Regions from separate parts of the Homo sapiens genome. Here region 2 is linked to region 1. Evidence: promoter capture Hi-C in 16 types of primary human blood cells and fetal thymus (Javierre and others, 2016). All regions are on one chromosome and are shown on one strand. The core of a region is centred on a gene start or on the middle of the fragment in contact, and the rest is flanking DNA. Distances in the headings are between cores, read along the strand shown. Region 1 holds the start of IQCA1-AS1 (IQCA1 antisense RNA 1). Region 2 overlaps COPS8-DT (COPS8 divergent transcript).

Evidence for each region. The method cuts DNA at HindIII sites, captures the fragments that hold promoters and counts their contacts. A CHiCAGO score of 5 or more calls a contact.
Region 2: a contact is called between a fragment that was not itself captured here and the fragment with the promoter of IQCA1-AS1 in region 1, in 1 of 17 cell types (naive B cells). The highest score is 6.6, in naive B cells.

What each region holds. Positions count from the first base shown.
Region 1 is chr2:236,389,628-236,392,836 of GRCh38, reverse strand. It overlaps IQCA1-AS1 (IQCA1 antisense RNA 1), which reads right to left and starts at 1,763. Exons shown (of 2, transcript NR_174961.1): 1 at 1,369-1,763; 2 at 461-542. DRC11 (dynein regulatory complex subunit 11) reads left to right here. Exons shown (of 19, transcript NM_024726.5): 10 at 487-593; 11 at 766-861. RefSeq lists an enhancer at 244-1,443. The HindIII fragment of the contact is 7,674 bases long and covers 1-3,209 here.
Region 2 is chr2:237,017,401-237,020,600 of GRCh38, reverse strand. All of the region lies in intron 1 of COPS8-DT (COPS8 divergent transcript), which reads left to right. Among named protein-coding and RNA genes, the nearest start is that of COPS8-DT, 67 kb to the left of the region's middle. The HindIII fragment of the contact is 4,861 bases long and covers 1-3,200 here.

The sequences.
Region 1 (3,209 bases), core at 514-3,013:
TACTTGTGTGTTTAGTGTTGTCTGTTTTGTAATAGGAGGCAAGGGATAATTCCTGGAGAGTTCAACAGGCAACAAAATCTTTCGTATTTTAGTGAATCATTTGAAGAAAAAAAGTAAGATAAAACATTACAAAAAAGGTCATCTGTGATTGTATAATCCCAGCATTAACATATTGTTTTTACATGATTATAATAATACAGTAGAATACTATTGTATCACACTTAAAAAATATTGAGTAAACTAAAACTCAATATTTTTACATCAGCAGTTTTTTTTCTTTTTTTAGTGCATTTACAAGCACATATATGAATCTCATCTGTCCAGCTTATTTTATTCAAACTTTTATCCTATGCAATAACATATAAAGTTAGGCTTATGTTTATATTGCAATAACTTACAATTAACCTACGTCTTTTTAAAATTTCATTAACCTATATCTTTTTAAAATTTTTTCTTTTTCTTTTTCTTTACCCTTCTGGAGTGTAGAAATCTGGATGAAAAAAGATGAGTCTTGGAATTTCTCTCAGGACTATGATCCAGAACTGATCAAAGAGGAGAAACGAAAAGAATTACAGTCAGAGATCAGGATACAGGTACAGCTACGTTTATGGTGTAGTAACAGCAAATCATTTACTTCAACCATTGTGCTTCTTTACAATTTCCTACTAATGACCTACCCCATAATTTAAGGGATTTTTAAACTTCACAAACAAAACACAAGACATGCAAAGTGACTTAAAAGTAGTATGTTTTGTATTCTCCTAGGTTGATGAGTTGATGAGACAGGAACTTAAAAACTTAAAGCTAGCTGTGGACAGAGAAAGGGAGCGCCCAGTGAAAGCAGGAAAGAAAAAGGACAAGGTGAGTGGGGAAGGAGCCTGCAGAGGGGTGCGGTGGAGCGGATTCAGTCATGAAAAGCAGCCCCTGACATGCTGTGGCATGTCCAGGAGGGCCGCCTGTTGCCAGGACACCTCACGGGGAAACATGCCTGCCTTTGGTAAATTTAATTGGTCCACCATTTAACCTTTGGGCCTGTGGATTCATAAATAGGATAAACCCAACCATCTGAGAGTAACATCTCCCCAGCCCCGGTCAGTTGCAGATTCATATTACCCAAGCCCCACTGATAGAATGGGAACTATCAAAAGAGCCAAAGCACATTCCCCAAACAGCCCCCAACTGTTCCTGTACATAGATCTATAAGGGAGGCCAATGGTAATGAGCAGGTTTTTGTGAGTGAGGGAATCATAGGGAAAGGAATTGGATGAATTGGAAGTGTAAGTTGCCACCAATCCATCTCACAGTGGTTTAGAGTAGCTAGTTAGATCAGGGTATTTGAAGTTCATTTAGTTTGGCCCCTGCTTCTACCTTCATTCCAGAGACAGCCCTGTCATTGGAGCCAGAATACCCAAGGTAGAGGGCGGAGAGTTCTCCCTGTCAGTGCTGGCATGAGCATAGGCAGCCTTTGCTTCTGTGGCAGCTTTCTCCACGTTCCATGACTGGAGCCACTCTTTCTGTGATTCACACATTTTCTCTTAGAGGTTTCCACACATTCAGCTGCATTTGTGACTACTTTTGCTAGATCAGGGGCCATGCATGTGGTCTTTTTAGGATGACTGGCTCTTGATCCATTTTGTGTTGATATTATGGTTTAACCCTGAAGGCAACTGAATTGGTGTTCTGAAGATCTTTCACTGTAAGCTGAAAACACCAATTTAATAACCATCCATAGATGAAAGTAACTTCACAAGAGCTCTGGGATTCAGGTGAGAGGCTGCAGCACCTGGGTGGAGCACAGAATCATAAAAAAAAAGATGCACTGAAGAGAGTAAGAATGAAAGTTTCACTTTACCCATGTCACCCCAAAGCCCACACAGCCTAGTGCCAAGAGAGATCTCCTAGACCCATGAGTTTTATCTTGGAAGAAAGGGACAGAGAAGTGAACATCTGACTTCACCATGGAGCTCAGCACCAGGCCAGTGAAACCCAGTACCATGGGCCTCCCACAAACCCTGACACCAGGCCCACCCACAAAAATCAGCACTGGGCCTGTCTTTGGACCCCAGAACCATGGGCCTCCCACAAACCCTGGGTGCACCTTGCTTCTATGGCAGCTTTCTCCACTTTTGTGGTGTAGTAATAGCAAGTCATTTACTGCAACCATTGTGCTGCTTTATTTTTGTGGGCCCACCCACAAAAATCAGCGTTGGGCCTGTCTTTGGATCCCAGAACCAGAAAAGAATCAAAGTATATCACTACAAAACATCGTTAAGTTACACAGCAACTTGTAACTTCAGAGAAGAACAAAAGAACCTCAAAATAGAAATAACCTAACAAAATGGCAAAAGTAAGTCCTTACCTTTCAAAAAATACTTCAGATGTATATGGATTAAACTCACCAATCAAAAGATACAGAGTCACTGAATGGATTTTAAAAATCCAACTATATGCTATATACATGTGATTCATTTCAGATTTAGGGACACATAGGCTGAAAGTGAAGGGATGGAAAAAAGATATCTCATGCAAATAATAAGCAAAAGAGAGAAGAAATGGCTATACTTAGACAAAATAGACGTCAAATCAAAAACTATCACAAGAAACCAAAAAGATCATTAACTAATGATAAAAGGGTCAATTCAATAGGAAGATATAACAATTATATATACACCTTTAATCAAAGCACCTAAATATATGAAGTAAATATTAACATATCTGAAGGGAGAAATAGACAGCAATACAATAATAGTAGGAGAACTCACTATCCCACTCTCAGTAATGAATGTATCATCCAGACAGAAAATCAATAAGGAAACAGCAGACTTGAATAATACTAGGGACCAGATAGTCCTAACAGTTATTGTACCCAACAGCACCAGAATACACATTCTTCTCGAGTATGCATGGAACATTCTCCAGGATATATCACATGCTAAGTCACAAAACAAGTCTTAATAAATATAAGAATATTGAAAACATTCCAAGTAACTTCCAGCTGCAATGAAATGAAACTAGAAATCAATAACAAAAAGAATACAGAAAAATTCACAAATATGCGGAAATTAAACAACACACTCTTGAATAACCATTGAGTCAAAGAAAAAAATTCGCAGGGAAATTAGAAAATATCTCAAGACAAAAATGACAGGCAGAGGAGCCAAGATGGCCGAATAGGAACAGCTCCGGCCTACAGCTCCCAGTGTGAGCGA
Region 2 (3,200 bases), core at 103-2,602, 630 kb before region 1:
GAGATCCCACCATAGAGGATAAATTAATTGGAAAAAATTCATTCATATGAGCCACCCTGATCTATGCTTCAGGGATATCTCTATACGTGCCTAAGGCCTAAATAACACAATGCACTTTTAGACATCAAAGTCTGAGAAAAAAAAAATGGTGTGTGGAGCCCACAAGATATCAACTACCAAGTTTCTAATTTACAGAGCAGCCTGAAAGGATCAGAGAACATTCTGTAACCATGTCTGAAGTGACCACTGTAAAGTTCTTCAAGCTATGGAAAATATTGAAGTCAAATATTTACAGTACTGAAGGGCCCACATGCAATGGAAAATAACCCCCAAATTAAGAACATCTGGGGGAAAAGTCTAACGAGAGCCAAGCAATGAAAGCAGCAATAAAGATGCAGAATGCATTCGTGGAAGGCTCATGAAGAAGGGAGCCTTTTTTTCTTTTTCTTTTTCTTTTTTGTTCTGTTTTTTAGGTAATGAGGCTACCTTCCTGTGGTGAGCTTCAGGGAAGTGATTTGATTCTGTCTGACTGAGTTTACAAGCTGCCAAACGAAAAAATTGCTACTTCCCATTTCATGAAATACAGTAATTACTGATGTATAGAACTTGTAGACGATCTTAGACATTAAAACACTGGAGAAGTAAAACATATGCATATATAATTATCTAGGATCAATCAATTGAGGAATGTTTTATCTGGGTTATAGAAAAACAAGAAAGGGAGACAATTTAAAGAGAAGAAGAAAAATATTGGCTTTGCTGTAGTCAAGTCCTGGATCCATGTGTTACTTATCATTATTTTAGGCCAGTTGCCTAAACCTCTCCCAGCCTCAGTTTGCACATCTTTAAAATGGGACTCTGATAAAGATTAATTGACAGAATTGCCAGGCATCGTGGCTCATGCCTGTAATCCCAGCACTTTGGGAGGTCAAGGCGGGTGGATCACTTGAAGCCAGGGGTTTGAGACCAGCCTGGTCAACGTGGTGAAATCTCATCTCTACTAATATTCAAAAATCAGCCAGGCTTGGTGGCTCATGCCTGTAATCCCAGTACTTTGGGAGGCCATGGCAGGTGGATCACTTGAGTCCAGGGGTTTGAAACCAGCCTGGTCAACACGGGTGAAATCTCATCTCTACTAATATACAAAGATTCGCCAGGCTTGGTGGAACGTGCCTGTAACCCAGCTACTCTGGAGGCTGAAGCATAAGAATCGCTTGAACTTGGGAGGTGGAGGTTTCAGTGAGCAGAGATTGCACCACTGCTCTCCAGCCTGGGTGACAGAGCAAGACTGTCAAAAAAAAAAAAAAAAAGATTCATTGACAGAATGCAGATGAGGCACACAGCCTATAGAAAGTGCAGACCACCTGGTGTTTGCCATTACTATTATTGTCATTGTGTTGTTGTTATTGTTGTAAGTGTTGTTATTACATTTTTACTTAGGGAAGCAAGGTGTCAGAAGGAGGTTAAGATTCTATCAAACAATAGTGGCCTAATGAAAAGGACTTATAAATTTTTAAGGGTTGAAACTCTCTTGGAAGCCACATAAAATAATGGGGTGAAGTATTTTTTTTCCTTTGATGAGAACAGTTGCATGAATGCACAGGAATGCCCCTGGGGTATGTTAAGATGCTCTCATGTTGAATGTACTTGGGGGGGGGGGCGGGGAAATTAATAAAACCCAATATGAATGAACAAGGCCTCACTCCCCAAGTTTCCTCTAATCTGATATTTATAATAGGACATCATACAAGGGTAGATTCTCACAGCTGCTGTCTAGCTTAATACAAATGGTTTTGAAGTCTTGGATGCCCTTGGATGTGTGTTATTTATACTGTGCATGGTATACTCATTTAGCATTTCCACCTTGAAAACCTCCTGTTACTTAGGCATCGAGAAAACTTTGAAGTTAAGAAAGTTATAAACTTCAAAAGATTGTTATTGGTTGAGTGTACAGGATTATGGTAGGGAATCAGAAGAGGACAAAAGAATCCAGTGGTATTCAAATCATGTTAGAGACCGTTTGATGTCTGCCTGCTGTTTAGGGGCTCAATAGCAAATTGCAAAGAGCTCCTAATCATAGGTATGGTCTAAGTGCCTATTAGAATGCCTTGAGCAGTTAACAGTAGCAGCAAAAGTCTATTAAAAAAAAAAGTCAGAAACATCCAAATTTGTTGTTGGTCAAACAGGTTGGCTTAGTTACTGGCATTGTCAATGACACCAGTGGCTAAAAAACCATGATATATAATGATACGATAGAATACATATAATCATCCTTTCAGAACTGCAAGGGATGGAAGGAGATACCATGTCTGTTCAATGCCTGATGCAAAGCTAATGACTAATTCAAGTTCTTTTTGTTTTTCCTCTTCTTCCCTTCCCAGAAAACCAAATAAGTGTCCCAGTGACATTTTGCCACGGATGTTCCCACTGTTGGAATTACTGTCAACGATACGTGTTTAGTGGGTGAGGACCCAGTTTTCTTCCTGACCTGTAGGAGGGATGGAGGAAGATGGCTCTGGGTGCGGGCAGACATGTGATGGTCAAACCCTGAGGAGGAGGAACTTTCTATGCCTGGGACTGCATCAAAGCCCCTGAGTTACCAGTGATTGTGCATTCCTCTGGAATCCCTCTTTTTTCTGAACCCCAGGTCTTAGAATGGCTGCTCATAATCTAGAACAGGGTGGGACAATCAATAGCACATTTGCACCTCATAGGCCTGAAGATGTAAGTTCAGGGCCCCGTGTTGAGAAGAATCGTAAAGCTCAGTTGGAAAGCAAGCCATGATCAATTAGTGATGCCATTTAGAACTGGGTTTTCATCCACTAAACAAGTAACATTGACAGCAATTCCAACAGTGGAAACATCCATGGCAAAATGTCACTGGGACCCTTATTTGGTTTTCTGGGAAAGGAAGAAGAGGAAAAATAAAAAGAACTTGAATTAGTCACCTGCTTTTCATCAGACATTGAACAGGCACTTTCAGACATGGTATCTCCTTCCCTGCCTTGCAGTAATCAATTATGGAGAAATCAATTAGTGATGTCTGCCACAGGCTAGGGCTAAAGGAAGGCAGCACACGCCAGCTTGTGAGAATTCCTTTCCCTAGTGCAAGGTTTGGTTCAAATACCATCTTACAACCATATCCCAAGATTTAGAATTAAAGCAATATATGAGCTAAAGGGTAATGAGATCATCCCTAT